2 separate regions of the Homo sapiens genome follow, and region 1 is linked to region 2. The links are contacts of gene promoters, found by promoter capture Hi-C in human tissues and cell types (Jung and others, 2019). All regions are on one chromosome and are shown on one strand. The core of a region is centred on a gene start or on the middle of the fragment in contact, and the rest is flanking DNA. Distances in the headings are between cores, read along the strand shown. Region 1 overlaps PLEKHB1 (pleckstrin homology domain containing B1). Region 2 holds the start of ARHGEF17 (Rho guanine nucleotide exchange factor 17).

Region 1 (5,296 bases), core at 838-3,337, 350 kb after region 2:
TTGAAGGGTTGGCAGAAATCTAATGGGAGAGAGGGGAGGGCAGGGAATGCATTCCAGAGAGAACACTGACCATTCTCTGAGCCTCAGTCCCCAACCCTATGGTCATGTGGAGCTAATACCTGCTTTAAGGATTAGAGGTGGTGTAACACACGTGATCACTTCCTTCAGGACCTGGTACATAGTAGGTGCTCAATAATCGTTACAGCCTAGTGCAGCCTAACAATTTTGGGTCAATGATGGACCACATATACAAAGGTGGTTCCATAAGATTATAATGGAGCTGAAAATTTCCTATCACCTAGTGATGTTGTAGCCATGATAATGTCGTAGGGCAATGCATTACATTTTCTACATTTATATATGATTAGTTAGATAACAAATACCATTGTGTTACAATTGCCTACAGTATTCAGGGCAGTAGCCTGCTGAACAGGTTTGTTGGCTTGGAGCAATAGGATATACCATATACTCTAGGTGTGTGCCACCTAGGTTTGTTTGTAAGTACACTCTATGATATTCACATAACTAAAATTGCCTAAGGACGCATTTCTCAGACTGTATCCCTGTTGTTTAAAAGACGCATAACTGTATTTTAGTTACTTCTCATCCCTATCCTTCCTTTCCCTTCCTTCCTCCCCAACCCCTGTTTATTTCCTGGGCCTGGGGCTTGGCCATGTTCCCCTCCTTGTGACTAGTAGAGCTGGGTCTTTCAAGTGGCATTATTGTAGAGCTGCTAGCAAATATTAGACTACCTATAAGGAGAAATTGGGAGCCATAGAGAATTTTTTGAGCTAGGTGGGAGGCCAGAGTTGGAGAATGGGTGTCACTGGGAGCTGGATGTAGGGCAGAAGTTTTAGAGGACCGTGGACCTTGTGGGGAGGGCAGGGCCTTTCTCCAAGAGCTTGCTAGTGGCTGGAGGCCCATTTCTAAACTTGGGGAGGTGGCTCCATGGATCCCAGAGAGGCCTGTGCCAGGCGTGGGGGTAGGGGACCAAATCCGGGCCAGGGAGTTCCTGGGCACCTGACATGGTTGGATTCCCCAGGTGCGCGTCTACAGCCCGTACCAAGACTACTACGAGGTGGTGCCCCCCAATGCACACGAGGCCACGTATGTCCGCAGCTACTACGGACCGCCCTACGCAGGTAAGTCTCCAGCGTGCCCCGGGGCTTGCCTCGATCCAGCACCGATTCAGCGCCAGGCCCAGCCCACGGTCCGTAAGTCCGGACCAGGCTTCATCCTTTTAGCGTGCACGGATTTTCCCAGGCAGAACTCTCCGCAAGCCCCTCTCCATCCTGAGACTGGGAGAGCTCTGGAACCAGCGTTCGTCTCGAGCTGACCTCACCCTTCTGGGATGGCTCCTCAGCCCTGCGGTCGGCAATACCCATTCCTGAGCCGGTAGCGGCCCCTGGTGGCTACTGCGGGAATGCTGCCTCCTCCCCGCTCTGGGGCCTGGCGGTTGGGAATGCCCATCGTTAGGCGCCTGGTGGTTGTGCTTAGCGATCTCAGGGTTTCCTCGCTGCTCCGCCCTAGCCTGCCGTAGCGGACCCGTAGGTTCCGGGACATCCGTAGCCGATCCAAGGCCTGGGAGCCGTAGGGTGGAGCTCTTCCCGCGTCTAGATCTGTTCTTTGACTGGGGAGCAGGAGAGTGGGTTCGGCGCCTTACACTGGGTTGGGCTGGAGTGATGCAGGAAGGGTACGAAGATCACTCTACTCCCTCCTAAGTCGCTGATCCTCATGGGCTGTCTCCCTCTGCAGGCCCTGGCGTGACGCACGTGATAGTGCGGGAGGATCCCTGCTACAGCGCCGGCGCCCCTCTGGCCATGGGCATGCTTGCGGGAGCCGCCACTGGGGCGGCGCTGGGCTCGCTCATGTGGTCGCCCTGCTGGTTCTGAGCCCTGGGACTCGGAGCACTGACCCCTGCGCTTGGATTGCTAGACTCCTCTTCCTCCTGGACCCCATCCTCTACCATCCAAGCCCTGTCCCACTTTGGCCCTATCCTCTCCATTAGCTCCTTCCGGGTTTGGACCATTCCCCCCACTCCCTACCCTTAATCCCCACATGGGAAGAAGCTATCATCACAGGTACAAACATCGCTTGAAGTCTTCACATCTACCACTAGACACCCCCAAAATCTGTTATAGACATTTATGGATACATTTCCTCTAAACACAACAGGGCACAGCAAATACGACTTCATTTGGCTTCGAGTTCCCCAGGCGCTGTAGACACAACATGAATCGGGCTCTCTGCTCTCTCCTTAGGGAGCTCGAGTCCTGGTGGGGAGAACAGGAGTAAACAAGGACTTGACAAAGCTGAAGAGTTATCAGTCCTTTGACAAGGACAGGTGGGGCAGGGAGCAAGACAGGTAGGCTGGAAGAACAGTTATTGGCAAGTATGCAGAGCCGTGAACGTCATGGCATGTCCAAGGAATTAAATGGGAGTTCATTTGGGCTGGGGTGGAGGCTGGGATCAGACCGTGGTGGGCCTTCAAGCTAAGGAGCTTCCTAGGTGAAAGGGGAGATGTGAGCCTTCTCTGGAGGGAAGTTTCATGATTGCATCTATAATGAATATATTGCCTGTTTTGTGAATACTGACACATGTCCATACCTAAAACACTCCTGAGTCAAGTCCCATCCTTCCCACAAACAGCTTCCTGGCTGGTACCCATGATAACAATTGAGCTGAACCTGGGGACCCCTGGTTGGGGAACAGGTGAGTTCTATTTGAGACTTCCAGCCCTAGAAAGCTGCCTCCGTCCAGAAATGCCTCTCACACCAGGAGCTCGGCCCTCTCTTTGTAGCTGTGACTGTCACCCTCTCAGGCTTTGTCTCATCCTTCATTCTGAATAAGATGGCAGTGTTCTCCTCTGGGGCCTGATCCACCTCTACACCAGCCCAGGAAGCCCCATCTGTGCCTGCCCTCAGGTGGTCCACCAGTCTCCCCCTTTGGTTCCCTTCCAGTCTCTTCCCCCTTTCTATCCCAATCACCAATAGAAATGCTAACATCCCTGCCTGGTAGCCAGACTAGCCCACTAAAGCTCCCCTGTAAATGGGGGCTCCATTAGTTCTGCTGCCGAGACTAATAAAGATTTGGTTGGCTCTAGCAGTAACTGTGGCTTGCTTTGTTCCCCCAGAAGGCCCTGTTTCCCTCTCCATGATCCAGCAGCTACTAGTGCCTTCACTGGTCTAGTGAAAAAGAGTGTGGATTCTGAGATCAGTTGGAACTGGTGACAGCATATTAGCTGAGTCATTTGGGGCAAGTCACTTAACCTTTCTGGATTTTGTTTTCCCTACACTTAAGGTAGCTGGTTGAAGTTGACCATTCCTGAGGGCTCAAGAGGAGGGACTGCCTTGGAGTCTCTGTTGTCTGAGCTGATGGATGATCCAAGCCAGGTCCTGCCTGCTTTCTGAGAATCCTGTTCATGTTGGAGTCTTTTCCAGTAGGTTCCCATCCTTCTAGAGTTGAATCAATGAATTGTTCTCATAGAAAACCAGGTGGTCAGGAAAGGAAACACCATCATCCTGCATCAGGCTTCTTGGGGCTGTCAGATAGAAACTCCCTGTTCAAACTGATTTAAGCCAAAGGGAAAAGGTTAAGCCACATAACTGAGAAGTCCAAGAGCTGTGTGATCCAGGGGCTCAAAGAGTGTCACTTAGACTTTGCTTTGTTTCCATCTTTACACCTGCAGGGCTGGCTCATTTGGAAGCTGCAGTGATGTTCAGCAGCTCCAGGCTAATGCCCTCCTGAGTTCAAGTCCAACCAAGAGAATTTCTCTTCCTCTAACAGTATGACTGAAAGTCCTGGGCCTGGTAGACATCAGTCTAAATTGGGTCCTGTGGCCATCCCTGCATCAACCCCAGTGGTCTGGAAACGGATGGTCTAAAATAACAGGGCTTACAGCAGGGGTGGGATGGTGTCCCAGAGGAAATTCAGGGCACTGTTCCCAGAAGTAGGATGAATAGATGAAAGCTGGTTGGCAAAAATATCAGGTATTCACCTCAGCCACAGTTCCAGAGACACCAACTTAGAGGTGAGACATGTATAAAAACAGCAATGATTGAATGAAGTTACAGAGGAACGTGGTGCAGTTGGAGCTCTGAAGAGGAGGCATGCAACTCTGCCAAGGGAACTAGGGAAAGCTTTGGGACAGGAAGTGGAAATTTATTTTGAACCTTGAAAAATGAGTAGGAGTTTGCCAATCTGAAAAAGTTGGGAGAGCTTTCCACACAGAGAACAGATGGAAGAAATGGTATGAGCAAAGGCATTAGAGGCTTGAGAGCACCCTGAAGTTCAGGAACCAGTCTCATGCTATAGCAGGTCGCATGGTGAGAGGTGGTGGATGAGGTCAAACTATAAGGAACCTCTTGGGCCAGGCTACTGAACACAGGGCATAGTCCAGTATGTGGCCCCGGCTTAAGGACAAGCATGGATGCAAGAGGAGCCTCTTGAGAAAACCAAGGTCTGTTAGCATTTGTGCAGTCAGAGGTTACATACCCTGGGTATCCTAAGGCCTGTACTGTGTTCAGGGGACCCAGCAGTGCATCAGACCCAGTCCATGCTTTGGAACTTCAGCCTTAATTTTTTCTTTTGTTTTGCTCCCCTCCTTTCTCCTCCTCACAGCCTTAATTTTTTCTATTTTTGTCTTTCCTCCTCCCCTCCCCTCCCTTCCCCTCCCTTCCCCCTCCCTTCCCTTCCCTTCCCCTCCCCCCCTCCCCCTCCCTTCCCCTTCCATTTCCTTCCCTTCCCCTCCCCCACTCCCCCCTCCCCCTCCCCTTCCCCTTCCCTTTCCTTTCCTTCCCTTCCTTTGCAGCAGTGAGAAGTGGGGAGAGAGAACAGAGTTTGATCTGTAACTGACTATGAACAGTCAATTGAGATAACTCACTACCTTCAGCCCAGCCTCAGCCTTAATTTTCTCCCAGATGGACCCAGTTACCCTGTCAGTCCTTTAGTGGCATCCCCATTACGCCATCTCATTAGAGGGTGTCCTGCATGCTCCTGCAGGGACATCTCTGAGTTTGGCTCTGGGAATGACCTTTCCTCTTACTCTCCGGCACAGTCTCAGGACTTTTAGAGATCAATATGTAGGAAGAGCCCAAGCTATCTAGAGTCCTTTCCCAAGAATGTGGGTTAAACAAGGATCAGGGAGCTGGCTGGGCAGGGCATTTGAGATCAGACAGAGCTGGGGACATTGCCATTCATTGCCCAAAGCTTCCCCTGCTTTATCTCATAGGTCTTTGCAACAACCCCATGGGCCTGGTGTTACTATTCTTATTTTACCTACAAAGAAACAGATGCA
Region 2 (5,304 bases), core at 701-3,200:
AAGAGGCTGCCCAGAGAGTGGAGAGTGACCTCCTCATCCTGTGGGGTATATGAGTAGCAAGCAGGTTCTGGAGTCCCGGCTGAGTCCTCTCTCTCTCATTCGGTAGTCAGGCAATCCCTGGGTGTCTACCATCCTTTCCTATCCTCCTGCCTGCCCCTCTCCTCTGAACCCCGTCTCCTAGCCTAGTCTGGCCCAGCTACATCTCCTTGGCTGGACCTGGTGGCAGTGGGGTTGGCTGGGTAATGCACAGACTGCTGACCTAACTATGTGTCCCCGAGGCCTTGCTACTGGGGGTTGGAGGGGCCAGGGCAGTTTGACCAGGCCTGAAGAAGGCTGGGCAGCGCTGGAGGGGCATGGGTCAGACCAGGTTATCCTCTGTTCCTGAGGAGAGTGAGCTCAGGCCCAAGGAGGAGAAGGAGGAGACTGGGGGCTCAAAGGAACGAGAACCTCCTTCTTCATCAGGATTTGGGGGTGCATCTCAGAGCTGGCTGGAGGAGCATGGTGTTTGAAGCCCCTGAAATCTGAATTTTAGCAGGAGCTGCTATTTCCTGACTTGCATAGTGGTCAAAGTTACTTCTCCTTCACGGTCCACAGAGAAGGGGTAATAATATTTGTCCCCAAGGGTGGTTTGTGGATTTTAAAAAATAAGTTAAATAATATTGCCCATACATTATAGGTACTCCATACATTTTCATTCGTTCGTTCATTCGTTAGTTGGGCCGGGAGGATGAATGGGATCTAGAGGCAGGTGGGAATGCGGAAGGGGATGATGCCCCAATACCGAGAACAATGTGAGACTCAGACGGAGGCAGGGGCGGGAGGGGAGCTCAAGCGAGGGATCAGCGTGAAGCCAGAGAAACAACCGACACTTTTCCTGCCAAGAAGGTGAAGCAGCTGCGGGTAAGAGTATAGGTTTGGCAGTGGGAAGTCGAGGGCGTTCCCGTCGAAGCTCCTTTTGTGTATAAGGCCTAAGAAGGGGCAGTGCGCTTTGCGAAGGTCTGAAAAAGACTAAGGGGATTAGGTAACGACTGAAAGGAAGTTTTCACAACTCTCCGTTTTTGGGGGATGGGTGCTGCTTTATCCGTCCAGGACTCCGTGCGTTGGGAAAATCACGCCGCGAGGGGGCGCAAGAGCCGCGTACTCCAGAGCAAGAAGAAAAGGCTCGGGGATCCAGGCGGAGAGTCCAGGAGAAGAGCCGCCAGACTGCAGGGGCAGGTGGAAGGCGTGGCAGCTGGAAAAGTAGGGGTGGGGGCGCGGTCGTGAAGGGTGGGACTTCTGGAGCAACGCTGGGCGGGTTGGGGGCCGGTCGGAGCCGGACAGGCGGCTGGGAGGTGGGATGGGCGGGGCGCTTGGGAGCGAGATGGGGGGACAAGGGCGTGGCTACAGCTAAATTCGCCGCAGAGGGCGGGCGGGGAGGGGGAGGGAAGGGGAGGAGGCGTGGCCTGGGCGGGGAGTAGGGCGCGACGGACCCTTCAGTTAGCCCGCGGCTCCCCGGGCTCTCCCTGGCGCCGAGTCCCACCCCTTTCCCGGCCCAGAGAGTGTGCGTCTGCGTGCACCTGAGTGTCAGTGTGTACGAGAGTTTGTGAGTCCGAGGTTGCCATGTTGGAGCCCCTGGGCAGGAGGTGTTTCCGCGCGGAGGCTGGTGGCCCGCGGTGGACGCGGCGCCCTGGCTGCGAGTCTGCGGAGCTGAGCACGCTCAGCGGTTGTGTGTGTCTCAGCGACTCCCTGGGGGCAGCTCGGCCTGCTGGGCTCCCGAGGGACCTCTCTGGAGGGCCAGAGGGTCGCCTCAGTCTGCAAGTCCTCCAGCAGGCTTTTTCTTCTTCGGCTCCTCCCTGATTCCCTCCCACCACGCGGTTCCCAGGCTCGCGCACGCCCGGAGCCCACCCCCTCTTTTGGGCGCGAGGCCCCGCCCCCCGCCCCCTTGCCTCTGCCGCAAAGTTTATTTGCAACAAAAGGGTGCCAGGAGCGAGCAGCCAAGGGCGTTGGGCAGGCGGACGCAGAGTCGAGGAACCAAGCGCTGGGATCCCGCCCAGGCGGTGCCGCGGTGCCCCTGGTCGCTCCAGCCGCGGCGGGGGCTGGGCCTGGGGGTCGGCGCTGAGGCGGGAGGGGCCGCCCGGGATGGAGACGTTGCGGCCGGTGGCCACAGAAACTTGAGCCGCGGCAGAGAAACCTCTGCTCCGGTCTCTGCGTCCTCTTCCCACACTCCCGTGCGCTGCTTTCGGCGTGGGCCGCTGCGCTCCTAGGGAGTGGGGGCGCAGGGGGGGTTGGCCGCGGCTGCCCGAGGCCAGCCCCCCCGGAGTGAGTTACGCCACTATGGCGGACGGGGCACCCCGGCCCCAGCTTTACCGCAGCGTCTCGTTCAAGCTGCTGGAGCGCTGGAGCGGCGGCCCCGGGCTGAGGGAGGAGGACACGGACACCCCCGGCTTGAGGCGACGCGCCTCGTGCCGGCCGACCACGGCTGCCCGGGGCCAGCCCTCTCGGCGCGTGTCCAAGCTGGCGTCTGGGCCCCTGGCCGCCCCCGCGCAGCCGCGCCCGCTCCGCAGCCTCTCGCCGTCGGTTCGCCAGCTCTCCCGGCGCTTCGACGCGCCGCGTCTGGACGACGGCTCCGCTGGGACCCGAGACGGAGGCGTCTTACCCGCGGCCGCGGAAGAAGCGGCCGAGGGCCCAGCGCGAGGAGCCTGGCCCAGCGTCACCGAGATGCGCAAGCTCTTCGGCGGTCCTGGCTCCAGGAGGCCCAGCGCCGACTCTGAATCCCCAGGAACGCCCAGCCCCGACGGTGCCGCGTGGGAGCCTCCGGCTCGGGAGTCGCGGCAGCCACCGACGCCACCCCCTCGGACATGCTTCCCCCTGGCGGGTCTGCGTTCGGCGCGGCCCCTGACCGGGCCGGAGACCGAAGGGAGGCTGCGCCGGCCGCAGCAGCAACAGGAGCGGGCGCAGCGTCCAGCGGATGGTTTACATTCTTGGCATATCTTCTCCCAACCGCAGGCCGGGGCCCGGGCCTCCTGCTCCTCCTCCTCCATCGCCGCCTCCTATCCTGTCAGCCGCAGTCGTGCTGCCAGCTCCAGCGAGGAGGAAGAGGAGGGCCCGCCGCAGCTGCCTGGAGCCCAGAGTCCGGCCTACCACGGCGGCCACTCCTCGGGCAGTGACGACGACCGAGACGGTGAGGGCGGCCACCGCTGGGGAGGGAGGCCCGGGCTCAGGCCTGGAAGCTCCCTATTGGATCAGGACTGCAGGCCTGACAGTGATGGGTTAAATCTAAGCAGCATGAACTCAGCAGGGGTTTCTGGGAGCCCTGAGCCCCCAACATCTCCAAGAGCCCCTAGAGAAGAAGGACTCCGGGAGTGGGGTAGTGGCTCTCCGCCCTGCGTCCCAGGTCCCCAGGAGGGACTTCGGCCTATGTCTGACTCTGTGGGAGGAGCTTTCCGTGTGGCCAAGGTGAGCTTTCCCTCGTACCTGGCCAGCCCCGCAGGCTCCCGCGGTAGCAGCCGTTATTCCAGCACGGAGACCCTCAAGGACGACGACCTATGGTCTAGTAGGGGTTCTGGGGGCTGGGGCGTGTACCGCTCCCCTAGCTTTGGAGCTGGGGAAGGGCTCCTGCGGTCCCAGGCTCGAACCCGTGCCAAAGGACCTGGAGGCACCTCTAGGGCATTGAGGGATGGAGGATTTGAGCCTGAAAAGAGTCGACAGCGGAAGTCCCTGTCAAATCCAGATATCGCCTCAGAGACCCTGACGCTTCTCAGTTTCCTGCGCTCAGACCTTTCAGAGCTGAGGGTCCGAAAACCTGGTGGGAGCTCCGGGGACCGTGGAAGCAACCCCCTAGATGGCAGAGACTCACCATCCGCAGGTGGCCCTGTGGGGCAACTTGAACCCATACCCATCCCAGCCCCAGCATCACCTGGCACGCGCCCCACACTCAAGGACTTGACAGCCACTCTGCGGAGAGCAAAGTCATTCACCTGCTCTGAGAAGCCCATGGCCCGCCGCCTGCCCCGCACCAGTGCTCTGAAGTCCAGCTCCTCCGAGCTCCTGCTCACAGGCCCTGGTGCCGAGGAGGATCCGCTGCCCCTCATCGTCCAGGACCAATATGTGCAGGAGGCCCGCCAGGTTTTTGAGAAGATCCAGCGCATGGGTGCCCAACAAGATGATGGAAGCGATGCCCCCCCTGGAAGCCCTGACTGGGCAGGGGATGTGACCCGAGGGCAGCGGTCCCAGGAGGAGCTCTCAGGCCCTGAGTCCAGTCTGACAGATGAAGGCATTGGGGCAGACCCTGAGCCTCCTGTTGCAGCATTTTGCGGCCTGGGTACCACAGGGATGTGGCGACCTCTTTCCTCATCCTCGGCCCAGACGAACCACCATGGCCCTGGGACTGAGGACAGTCTGGGCGGGTGGGCCCTGGTGTCGCCTGAGACCCCTCCCACACCAGGTGCCCTCCGCCGACGACGCAAAGTCCCACCTTCAGGTTCTGGTGGGAGCGAATTGAGCAATGGGGAGGCAGGGGAGGCCTACAGGTCCCTGAGTGACCCAATTCCTCAGCGCCACCGGGCTGCCACCTCTGAAGAGCCTACTGGGTTCTCTGTGGACAGCAACCTCCTGGGCTCACTGAGCCCCAAGACAGGGCTCCCTGCCACCTCAGCCATGGATGAGGGCTTGACCAGTGGTCACAGTGACTGGTCTGTGGGCAGTGAAGAGAGCAAGGGATATCAGGAGGTTATTCAGAGCATAGTTCAGGGGCCTGGCACCCTGGGGCGTGTGGTGGACGACAGGATTGCTGGCAAAGCCCCCAAGAAGAAATCCCTGAGTGACCCCAGCCGCCGTGGGGAGCTGGCTGGGCCTGGATTCGAGGGCCCTGGAGGGGAGCCCATCCGAGAAGTTGAGCCCATGCTGCCTCCATCCAGCAGCGAGCCCATCCTTGTAGAGCAGCGGGCAGAGCCAGAAGAACCTGGTGCCACCAGGAGCCGGGCACAGTCTGAAAGGGCCCTACCTGAGGCTCTGCCTCCCCCTGCCACTGCCCACCGAAACTTTCACCTTGACCCCAAGCTGGCTGACATTCTGTCCCCGAGGCTAATCCGCCGAGGCTCCAAGAAGCGCCCAGCTCGGAGTAGTCACCAGGAGCTTCGGAGAGACGAGGGCAGTCAGGACCAGACTGGCAGCCTGTCTCGGGCCCGGCCCTCCTCCAGACACGTTCGCCATGCCAGTGTGCCCGCCACATTTATGCCTATTGTGGTGCCTGAGCCACCAACTTCTGTTGGTCCCCCTGTGGCTGTGCCAGAACCCATAGGCTTCCCTACCCGAGCCCATCCCACG

What was found. Contacts are between HindIII fragments. The study calls those that stand out against the background at their distance.
Region 1: a fragment that was not itself captured here is called in contact with the fragment with the promoter of ARHGEF17 in region 2 in 1 of the 25 tissues and cell types used here (spleen).

Annotation. Positions count from the first base shown.
Region 1 is chr11:73,659,711-73,665,006 of GRCh38, forward strand. It overlaps PLEKHB1 (pleckstrin homology domain containing B1), which reads left to right. Exons shown (of 8, transcript NM_021200.3): 7 at 1,043-1,142; 8 at 1,756-3,109. The coding sequence ends at 1,892. Among named protein-coding and RNA genes, the nearest start is that of PLEKHB1, 16 kb to the left of the region's middle. RefSeq lists enhancers at 571-1,415, 1,416-2,258 and a silencer at 1,321-1,492. The HindIII fragment of the contact is 5,172 bases long and covers 1-4,673 here.
Region 2 is chr11:73,306,326-73,311,629 of GRCh38, forward strand. It overlaps ARHGEF17 (Rho guanine nucleotide exchange factor 17), which reads left to right and starts at 1,951. Exons shown (of 21, transcript NM_014786.4): 1 at 1,951-5,304. The coding sequence starts at 2,314. ARHGEF17-AS1 (ARHGEF17 antisense RNA 1) reads right to left here and starts at 3,036. Exons shown (of 3, transcript NR_147696.1): 1 at 2,347-3,036; 2 at 1,557-2,239; 3 at 1,186-1,231. RefSeq lists silencers at 1,323-1,462, 1,863-2,192, 2,423-2,642 and enhancers at 2,063-2,940, 2,946-3,766. The HindIII fragment of the contact is 12,473 bases long and covers 1-5,304 here.